2 separate regions of the Homo sapiens genome follow, and region 2 is linked to region 1. Evidence: promoter capture Hi-C in 16 types of primary human blood cells and fetal thymus (Javierre and others, 2016). All regions are on one chromosome and are shown on one strand. Each heading gives the region's core, a stretch centred on a gene start or on the middle of the fragment in contact. The rest is flanking DNA. Distances are from core to core; before and after follow the strand shown. Region 1 holds the start of PSTPIP2 (proline-serine-threonine phosphatase interacting protein 2). Region 2 overlaps PSTPIP2 (proline-serine-threonine phosphatase interacting protein 2).

Region 1 (5,178 bases), core at 1,022-3,521:
GCACTGTACTAAACTCTCAAGTTTAATCCTCCCAACGGTCCTAAGGAGTAGACACTGTTATTATCCCCATTTTTATGTATGGAAAAACTGAGGCTTGGGGGCGGAAGCAGGCTGCCCAGGGTCACCTAGCTAGTAAGGGGCAGAACTGGATTCAAGCCCGGGCAGCCCACCTCAGAGGCTTCATGCTGTTCGGTAAGCTCTCAAAACTGGACATCTTCCCAAGGGGCGGGGCCATCTCCACCAGCCCCTCAAACCCTGCATGTCACCCACCAGACATTAGAGAGTACTCACTGACATGTTTGTACTGGCTGTGAAGATATTAAAATACTGCAAACTCTGTGGCCTGGAACCCTGTCTTCACCCTGTCACCCTCTCCGCTAAGACCTCCCCGTATCCAGCATCCCTGGCATGGGGCTGAGGGGTGGAGGCTGGTGGGGAGGGGCTTAGCGCCCGCCTGGCCTTAGCCTTGCCAGTGCTAAAACTGTGGCTAAATACTGAGGATTGTGTTGTTTGGTTGGGTTTGTTTGTTTGTTCGTTTTTGAGACAAACACAAATCACTCTGTCGTCCAGGCTGGAGTGCAGTGATGTGATCATAGCTCACTGCAACCTCAAACTCCTGGCCTCAAGCAATCCTCTTGCCTCAGCCTCCCAAGTAACTATATCTACAGGCATGCACCACCATGCCCAGCTAATTTTTAAGATTTTTTTGTAGAGACAGACAGAGTCTCACTATGTTGCCCAGGGTGGTCTCGAACTCCTGGCCTCAAGCAATCCTCCTACCTCGGCCTCCCAACGTGCTGGGATCACAGGCATGAGCCACTGTGCCTGAACTAAATACTGTTAGTATCACGTCTGCCTCCTTCTCCTTATGTCTCCACGAACCAGTTCCTCTGCTGACTTCCTTATTTCTGGGGCCCACATCTCATTCTCCAGTTTGTATTATACAGAGCCTTTTTCCCACAGTGCCTGCCATGGGATCCCCCAGTCCTCCATTCTACCTGAAAAACTCGCAAGCCTCCCGTGAGAGCCATCTGTGGTGCCCTTGGTTCCTCTGTGAGGCTGCCACCACCCTGCACCCTAGGGTGAGTAGTGCCCCAGAAGGACCTCACAAACTCCAGTGAAGGGACTCACAGGCACAGTCTCAACTGTGTCCCTGAGGTCCCCAGCCAGGTTTCTCTACCCTGCAGCCCACGTGGGGTAGAGGGACCATCTAGGCAGCTGTGAAGCTACCTGGGTGGGTGGTGGGGGGAGGCAAGCAGGAGCCCCAGTAAGGAGTCAGGGCCCCTTGGCAGCTGCGGTCAACTTTGAGGTTTGCAGCCTCCTGCTCCTGTCTTAAAGGGATGAGGACAGCTCCTCTGAATGAGGGGGCATGGACCTTGAGGGGCACCTGGGGAGTGAGAGGACAGAGGGAAGAGGACTAGACAGAGGAGGGGGACAGGCAGACCTGCTCCCTCCAGGCTGGGCTGGCCCTACCGGGCTGGGTGGGGTACCCCCTCCAGCTTATAGGGTCTCCCACACCATCAGCCCCGCTATGGGGCCTGGACGGAAGGGCTGGGGCAATGGCCTGGGGAGGGGGCTCGGGAAACAAGGCTGTAGAACAGGGAAAGCTCCAGCAAAGGGAAGCCCTCTATGCTGTACGTTTCCTGGAAAGGACGATCCCGGGGGGCAGCTGCTGCTGTCAACCCGGTAAAGCTCACAAGCCCCCACACCAGATCCCCCCAGATCCTCTCACGGCTCAGCTCCAGGGACCGGCAGAGACTCTCCCCGGACGGGTCTCGCCTCCCTAAGGGTCTCTGCTTCGCCTGTGAGAGGAGGGGTTGATGTCCTGACTCTAAGGTGTCTCGGCTCTCTGCGTCCTCAGGAGCACGCGCTGCTGGGGGCGCGGGCGGCAGAGGGTGGGCCCTGGAGTCCGAGCCCCCGGGACTCGCGGGCACGCGGTGGGTAGCGGGGGACAGAGAGGGAACAGCAGCCCGGCGTCCGCTCCAAGTCTGCCCCTCGAGCAGTGGGGCTGGGGCCCCGATCCCTTCACGCGCGAGCTCCGCCAAGCCCCCGGGCGCGCGGTCACCGAGTGGCGCCGGAGCTGGGGAGCCCCCCACGCCCGCCGCGTTGGCCTCCCGCCCGGGCCGGGTCCTGAGCCCCGCGATCCGCTGTCGGCCCCACGACTTACCCAAAAGTTTCCCTTGAACAGTGAGCGCGTCATCGCAGCGCGAGTGGGGGCGCGGAGGAGAGCCGGGCCGCAGGTAGCACAGAGCGGGGAGGCCTGACTGCCACTGCCCGCGGCTCCGCAGACTCAACTTCTGCGTTCCACACTCGCGCAGGGAAGCCGCCCCCGGGTCCTAAACCACTCCCGATTGCGACGGCCGCCGTCGGCGCTCTGCGCTCCCTGCGCGAGACCTGGGCGGGACCCTCGGCGCTCACCCGGCCAGGGGCTGCAGCCCGCACCCGGACCCAGGCCCATTTAAAGCCCCACAGCGTCGGGCCACGATCAATATATCAGCCCGAAGCTAGCTGCCTCCTTCTGGAAGTCTTTGGGTATTGGAAATAACTGGTCCTGGCTTGGGTTCCTGCCCACAAGGCCCCCTGGACAGCACGAAATCCAGGCTCTGCGGGGTGATAGACGGGATCTGATCAGATGGTCGCGAGGACCCGGTTTAAGCTACAGAAGGCCTGGGGCCGACAACTCCCGCAGACGCCTTGGCTTCACGGCGGGCCCCACCGGCACCTGCTGCAGATCAGGCCCTGGGGGACGGTTCATTTTTTATTTTACTTTTTGTTGTTGCAGGTGTTTTTAATGAATGGGGTCACGTTTTAGTCTAAAATGTCATGGAGAGGTCATCTCTGCTGTTTCCCCTTGACTCTAGTCACTTGGTGGTGTCCTAACAGGGCTTCCAGGAGCTCAGCCGCTCTCTGACTCCCTTTCCATTCTCAAAAGGCAAGACCCTTCCCTGCCCATTCCACCCCAGCAAGAGGGGCCCAAGATTCCTTCTTCTCCCTCCACTCTTCCACCCTCACAAATAAAACCCCAGGGCAGGTCAGACCCCTCTCTGCATTGTAGTAGATTGGTACAAAAGTAATTGCGGTTTTTGCCATGACTTTTAATAGTAATGCAGGGCTTATGACAAAGTACTGCCTGGTGCGACAGGCCCGAAGCCCAACCTGAGGCCCAGAGGGGTTGAATGGCTTGCCCAAGATCACAGTTTATTTAAGGGATGAAGAGCTCAAGGTTAGAGCTCTGCCCTTCTAAATAGATGCAAAGACAGACATCCTTCCTGGGGCAGATCCATCCTGGGCAGAGGAATAGGTGCTCAAAGTGGGGAGGATAAAGGTCAAGGTTGCCAAGACTGGCACCAGCCCAGCCTGGAGAAGCAAGCACTCACCCCTGGAGCAGGTTCTAGCTACACCCAGACACAGTGAAAGGGCAATTGCTAGAATTATGTGAAGCACCTGGAACAAGTTCTGCTCCATAAAACTGCAGCCAGCCCCACTCAGATGAACTCCCACCAATAAAGTCATCCACAACTGCAAAGATGGAGAGGTGGCCTCCAGCCACCAAGCATCTCCAAGGGATGCATCCATTTACGTACTTGCTCATATCCTTTGAAAGCAGTGAGATTAGAAGGAAGGCAGAGAAGCCTGGCAGAACCATCAAGGGGCAGCAGAGGACGTGGTAGGCACTAGGAAGCTAGGCTTAACTGCAGGGGGTAAGAAATGGCACAAACTGGGGACATAGAAGCGGGAGAGCTGAAGACACCACTAAGGTTTTTCCTGGAAGTTTTAAATATTCTGGAAAAATAGTTTAGATACAATTCTAATTGTCACATTTTAATTTTTAATACATGTATAATTTTAAGTTATTAGAACGTTTCACAAGCTCTCACAGTACATTGTGCTTGATTTTCGCGACTCAGACTCTAAGCTCCCTGAATTTTAACCCTCTTCCGCCATCTGGTGACAAAGTTTTTAATTGCAAATGGTCATCCACGCTGCTGGAAAATATTCTTCATTCCTCAAACAGCTCATCTCTGGGGCAGGTATTGTGAGTAAAAAAACAAACAAAGTGTGTGCTATATCCAAGGGACATATTTAGGATATTTTACTAACTTCTGTGGTTTGAATGTTGCCCCCTCCAAGAATTCTTGTTGAAACTTAATCTGAAATGAGACAGTATTGAGAGAGGTAGGATCTTTAAGAGGTGATTGGGTCACGAGGGCCACTAGTCCCATTCATGGATTAATGGGTTAGTAGATTAATGGGTTATCAGGAGATGAAACTGGTGGCTTTATGCTTTATAAGAAGAGGAAGAGATGGCTGGGCACAGTGGCTCATGCCTGTAATCCCAGCACTTTGGGAGGACAAGGCAGGTGGATCACCTGAGGTCAAGAGTTCAAGACCAGGCAGGCCAACATGATGTAACCCCATCTCTATTAAAAATACAAAATTAGCCGGGTGTGGCGGCACACGCCTGTAGTCCCAGCTACTTGGGAGGGTGAGACAGGAGAATCGCTTGAACCCAGGAGGCATAGGCTGCAGTGAGCCGAGAGTGCTACTGCACTCCAGCCTGGGCGAGACAGAGTGAGACACCATCTCAGAAAAAAAAAAAAAAAGAAGAAGAAGAGGAAGAGAGGCCTGAACTAGCATGATCAACCTCCTTGCCATGTTACACCCCATGCCACAGAGTCCCTACCAGCAAGAAGGCTGGCACAAATGCGGCCCCTCAACCTTGGACTTTTCAGCCTTCATAACTGTGAGAAATAAATTCTTTTCCTTTATAAACTACCCGATGTCAGATACTCTGTTATAAGCAACAGAAAACATACTAAGACACTAACAAAATTAAACAATATTATAGCAATTATGAAATAATGAAATTATTTAATATATTTAAGACATAATACATTTAAGATAATCGCTGTGAATATTTTGGCATACTCTCTTTCAACTATATATTTGCAAGAGTAAGTTCTTACTGTACATAAAATTTTGAGTCTTGCTTTTTTAACTTAGTATTTCATAAGTATTTTCTAAAATCACTCAATGTATTTTTTCTAACAAAAAGTTTGATAGAATACAGGGCTAGCCACTTTATAAGCAGACAATTTTGCACATAAAAATTGAAAATCTCTGTGAAGGGCTGGGCAGGGTGGCTCACATCTGTAATCCCAGCACTTTGGGAGGCTG
Region 2 (4,919 bases), core at 646-3,145, 75 kb before region 1:
AGAAGTAAAGCAGAAAACAGTGTTTTAGGAGAAGCATAATAACCTACAGTATCAGATGGCAAAGAGAGATCAAATAAGATTAGAAACTGCAAAGGCCCACTGGCCCTCATGCCAAGGGATTCTGGTGCCCTCCAAGACAGCAGCTGCAGGGAAGCAAATCCCAGATGCTGCAGGCTGGGGCAGTCAGGACAACATGGACTTGGAGACAGCCCCTTCAAAAAGCGTGGCTGTGAAGAAGGGCGGGGGTAGTAGGGGTCGTAGATAGAAAGTAAGAACTGCTGGTTTTGTTTTTTGCTTTTTGGGTTTTTTTGAGATGGAGTCTAACTCTGTTGCCCAGGCTAGAGTGTAGTGGCATGATCTCAGCTCACTGAAACCTCCACCTCCCGGGCTCAAGTGATTTTCCCACCTCAGCCTCCCAAGTAGCTGGGATTACAGGTGCTTGCCACCACATCCAGCTAATTTTTGTATTTTTAGTAGAGACTGGGTTTCACTATGTTGTCCAGACTGGTCTTGAACTCCTGACCTCAGGTGATCTGCCTGCCTTGGCCTCCCAAAGTGCTGGGATTACAGGCATTAGCAGCCACCATGCCTGGCTGAACTGGTGGGTTTTAAAGCTAGGAGAGAGTTGAGTCTGTGTGCAAGATAACAGAAGTTGACAAGTTCTCCATGCCCAAGAAGGTGGGGAAAGGCAAGCTGGATGAAAAAAGATCTTGAACAAGGAAGGAACAGCCCCTTTTCTGTGCTAACAGGAAAAAAGGAGTGGGGCAGGCGTGTCTGTCAATGATTCTTATACTTGAATTCCCATCAAAATCACTTGGAAGGCTTATTAGCACAGAGATTGCTGGGCTTTACCCCCAGAGTTTCTGATTCGGTAGGTCTGAGGTTGGTCTGAGAACCTGCATTTCTAACAAGTTCCCAGGTGATGCTGATGCTACCAGTCCTAGGACCTCACTTTGAGAACCACTGGAAGAAAATGTGTAGGCAGGATGACAGAAACTTAAGCAAGCTTCCAAGTTATGTTTTTTATTTTCTCTTGGAAATTGTGAGGTCATTTGCTGCAAAAGAAAGGGAGCAGTGGTGAAATTGAAGGTATGAGGAGAGTAAAAAAAAAAAAGAAAACCCTCCAGCCAGGCATGGTGGCTCATGCCTGTAACCCTGGCAACTCAGGAGGCAAAGGTGGAAGGATTGCTTGAGACCCAGGAGCTCAAGACCAGCCTGGGCAACAGAGCAAGTCCCTGTCTCTTTAAAAATAAAATAAATAATAAATAATTAACAAGGCGTGGTGGTGCACGCCTGTAGTCCCATCTACTTCACTTGAGCTCATGGGGTTTCAGGCTGCAGTGAGCTCTGATCATGCCACTGCACTCCAGCCTGGGCGACAGAGTGAGACCCAGACTCAAAACAAAAAGCAAACAAACAAATCTCCAAAGCCTACTCACTTGCTGTTGGCATTCCCTTTAGAGCCTATTGAGGCCGGGCTCTCCAAAGATAATTACTTAATCGACCATTAACTGATTCAGCTATTCTATGCTTGTGCTAACCCAACATTAGACTAAAATTTGAACTGTTGGACAGCATGGTCAGGATGGGGATGAGGCAGACAAGGTTTGGGGAAAACTATTCCAGTTCCTTCCATTCTTCACTTAAATTTCTGATTTCTTTTTTTGTTTGTTTGTTTTCTTGGAGACGGAGTCTTGTTCTGTCGCCCAGGCTGGAGTGCAATGGCACTATCTTGGCTCACTGCAACTTCCGCCTCCCAGGTTCAAGCTATACTCCTGCCTCAGCCTCTAGAATAGCTGGGATTACAGGTGTGCGCCACCACACCCGGCTAATTTTTGTATTTTTAGTAGAGACAGGGTTTCACCATGTTGGCCAGATGGTCTTGAACTCCTGACCTCAGGTGATCCACCCACCTCGGCCTCCCAAAGTGCTGGGATTACAGGCATGGGCCACCGTGCCTGGCCAAATTTCTGATTTCTAATTTGCCCTCAAGCTCTGTAACCCTATGAGAATCCGGGCAGATCATTTCTACAAAAGTAGACTCTCCAGGTTCTGGGCAGAAGACCCACCTCCCGCCCCCTCGTCCTCCCCCAACCCCCGGCCCCACTCCCCCTTCCCTCCCTCCCCTCCCCCTCCTCCCCTCCCCCCCCCGTCCTGAGCAGCTTCCTGTTACACACACCCCCACCCACCCACCCCAGTCCTGAGCAGCTTCCGGTTACGGGTACCTCGCAGGCCTTGATGTGCTCACTCTGCCACTCTTCTCGGACCTTATCCAGGGTGCCGATGTGCAGCATGTATGCTTTGTCTGCAACAGAAGGGAGAGACCTGGGTCAGAAACTAGACAGGAAGGTGGCTCGCAGATACACCCACAGGCTGGTCTCAGATGGCAAAAGAAACTCATCCGAGTTGTGCTGAGCTTACAAGGCCCCCAGGACTCTGAGCACTGGGAGTTATTGCATCTCTCACCCTCATCATATTTGGTGAAGTAGGCAAAGGAGGGTATCACTTTCTTTTTAAACATTGGACCTAACATTGAGAAAGAAAGGTTCTAAGGAAGAAGTGAAAGCTGATAAGAAACCTCAGCCAGGGTTTTGTTTGTGTAATTCCACCTCAGTATTTCCCATCGCTTTTCATTTTCAAAATTGTCTGATGAAGGATGCAGAGAAGAGAACTACCTTGAGCCCTAAAGGGGCACCAAGTTACTTTAGTTTCAAATGTAGAGATTAAGATGTACATAACCACCACAGTCATGAGGGATATTTCCTGCAGGATATTCTGGGAATTAGAAGCTTTTGCAAATGCCTGGTTTGGGTCTTAGATTTCAGTGATAACAAGGCCTTGCAGCTTGGCTGTTTCACAGCAGATAAGAGCTACCGGGGCTGAAATGGTCTTTTAGATAGATGCCCCAATACATCAGAGGAAGCACCTGATTGCAAAGCCGCTACCACATGACTCCACCATCTCACTCCCATGTAAGGCAGCAAGATCTAAGCAGACAGAAGCCAGAAACAGTGGCCTCATAGCCTCCTCCCACCTTCCGGGGTTCTAATATACCCTCCCTTCCTCTCTCCTCTTCTTTCCTTTCCTCCCTCCCTTCCTTACTCTCTCCCTTCCTTCCTCCCTTTTTCCCTTCAGATATCTCACTAATCCTGCTGAATATCCATATATTCTCTCTTTAAGGTATATAAAACTCCCTTTCTCAGGGACACATTTAGGATAACGTAAACCCCACCAGCAACCCTCCCCCATCCGTAGGAACTGCCCCCTCACCTGAGTCCTCTACTGCGGTCTTTGAAGTTGCCAGTTTCACAAAAAGCTGTGAAAACAAACAAACAAACAAAAAAAGAGCAAGCATTGGGAATGCTGGACGAGGCTTCCACAGGCAAAACAGATTGAAAAGCAGTAACTATGAAGAGACCAGGTCTAGTGCAAGTCCTGTGTACATTTCCCTCATGAGCAAATCATTCAACGTGCCCTGCAATCTTATCAATCTTGGAAAATATCCATAAAGCATCTTGCCCAGTGTCTTCCTAAAGACACACCCAGCCCTCTGGTTGCAGAAATCTTGTATCTAGATTTTACAAAGTTAAATTTGTAATCCACCCAAGCAAAAGGCAGCCTGACTACAAAGAATACATGAACTGAGTCTTTAAGAAAAATGACAACAACTGGGAAATCCCTCCAACCTCTTATCACCCCATCTCCCTCCCTCATAGCCATGCTTCTGTCGCTCTTCCCCTAACCCCCAAATATGTGGCAGTGGTTTTTCAGGTTCAGAAGACCCCCAATACATGAAGGAAGATATTTCCAGGGGTTTAGGATACAGGTTCATTTCTTATGAAGATTCATAATTGGCTTTAGCCTGACATAGGTCAGTCTCAGATTTTTCGGGTTGTTAGCCCTCCTGGGTACCTTTTCTTGTTGCTTCGGGTTCACCAGGTTGGCACTCCGGCTGACGGCCTGTTCTGCCTCATCTTTGTCCCGGCATTTCTGCTCATAGTTCTTCTTTGCCTTTGTCATTATGAACAAAGAGAACCAAAACAAATGAACAGAGTGTAACCATGAAATGCAGCCCCCTTGGCCCAGGAAGTCCAGCATGGACAGGGCCGTCTGATTAGTGCTCTGATTGTCACTAAGCCATGGGCTCCCAGAGGGCAGATGCTTTTTCTTATCAGTCTTTGAAAGCTCACTCTCTCTCTCTAGCCCTTTTTCAAATTATGTAATAGTGGCAACCTGATCAAGGAAGTAATAGCTCCTATTTGGCAACATAAAGTACATGAGCTTTAAAAATGGACTGAAACGAAAGATGGAATTTGAAATAGACAAAATTAAGGCCAGGCACCATGGCTCACGCCTGTAATCCCAACACTCTGAGAGGCTTAAGTGGGTGGATTGCTTGAGCCCAGAAGTTCAAGACAAGCCTGGGCAAAATGAATGAAACCCCATCTCTACAAAAAACACAAAACTTAGCTAGGCATGGTGGCACACACCTGTGGTCCCAGCTACTTGGGAGGCTGAGCTGGGAGGGTCGCTTGTGCCCAGGAGTTCAAGGCTGCAGTGAGCTATGATCATGCCACTGCACTCCAGCCTGGGCGAAAGGGTGAGACCCTGTCTCAAAATAACAATAACAACAACAACAACAATTAAAATAGTTACGTAACTCTAAAACGTGTGGTCTAAAATTTATGAAACATTCATAATCCTAAGAATGCCTGTACAAACACTTGGTTATTTGGCACCAACTCACTCTAATTCTAACGAGGCCTCAATATTCACCACAGCATGTGAACAGCCGGCAGGTTACCAATGCCATCATTTATTTTGCTTAAAGATAGTCATGTTCCTTATTTATTTATTTATTGAGACAGAGTCTAGCTTTGTCACACAAGCAGGAGTGCAGTAGTGCAATCTCGGCTCAC

The links. The method cuts DNA at HindIII sites, captures the fragments that hold promoters and counts their contacts. A CHiCAGO score of 5 or more calls a contact.
Region 2: a fragment that was not itself captured here is called in contact with the fragment with the promoter of PSTPIP2 in region 1 in 1 of 17 cell types (M1 macrophages); the score reaches 5.4 in M1 macrophages.

What each region holds. Positions count from the first base shown.
Region 1 is chr18:46,069,989-46,075,166 of GRCh38, forward strand. PSTPIP2 (proline-serine-threonine phosphatase interacting protein 2) reads right to left here and starts at 2,272. Exons shown (of 15, transcript NM_024430.4): 1 at 2,168-2,272. The coding sequence starts at 2,200. RefSeq lists enhancers at 758-857, 898-957, 2,177-2,678 and silencers at 1,808-2,187, 2,228-2,277, 2,408-2,567. The HindIII fragment of the contact is 16,135 bases long and covers 1-5,178 here.
Region 2 is chr18:45,995,524-46,000,442 of GRCh38, forward strand. It overlaps PSTPIP2 (proline-serine-threonine phosphatase interacting protein 2), which reads right to left. Exons shown (of 15, transcript NM_024430.4): 7 at 3,913-4,011; 8 at 3,271-3,316; 9 at 2,226-2,305. Among named protein-coding and RNA genes, the nearest start is that of EPG5, 31 kb to the left of the region's middle. The HindIII fragment of the contact is 1,783 bases long and covers 1,005-2,787 here.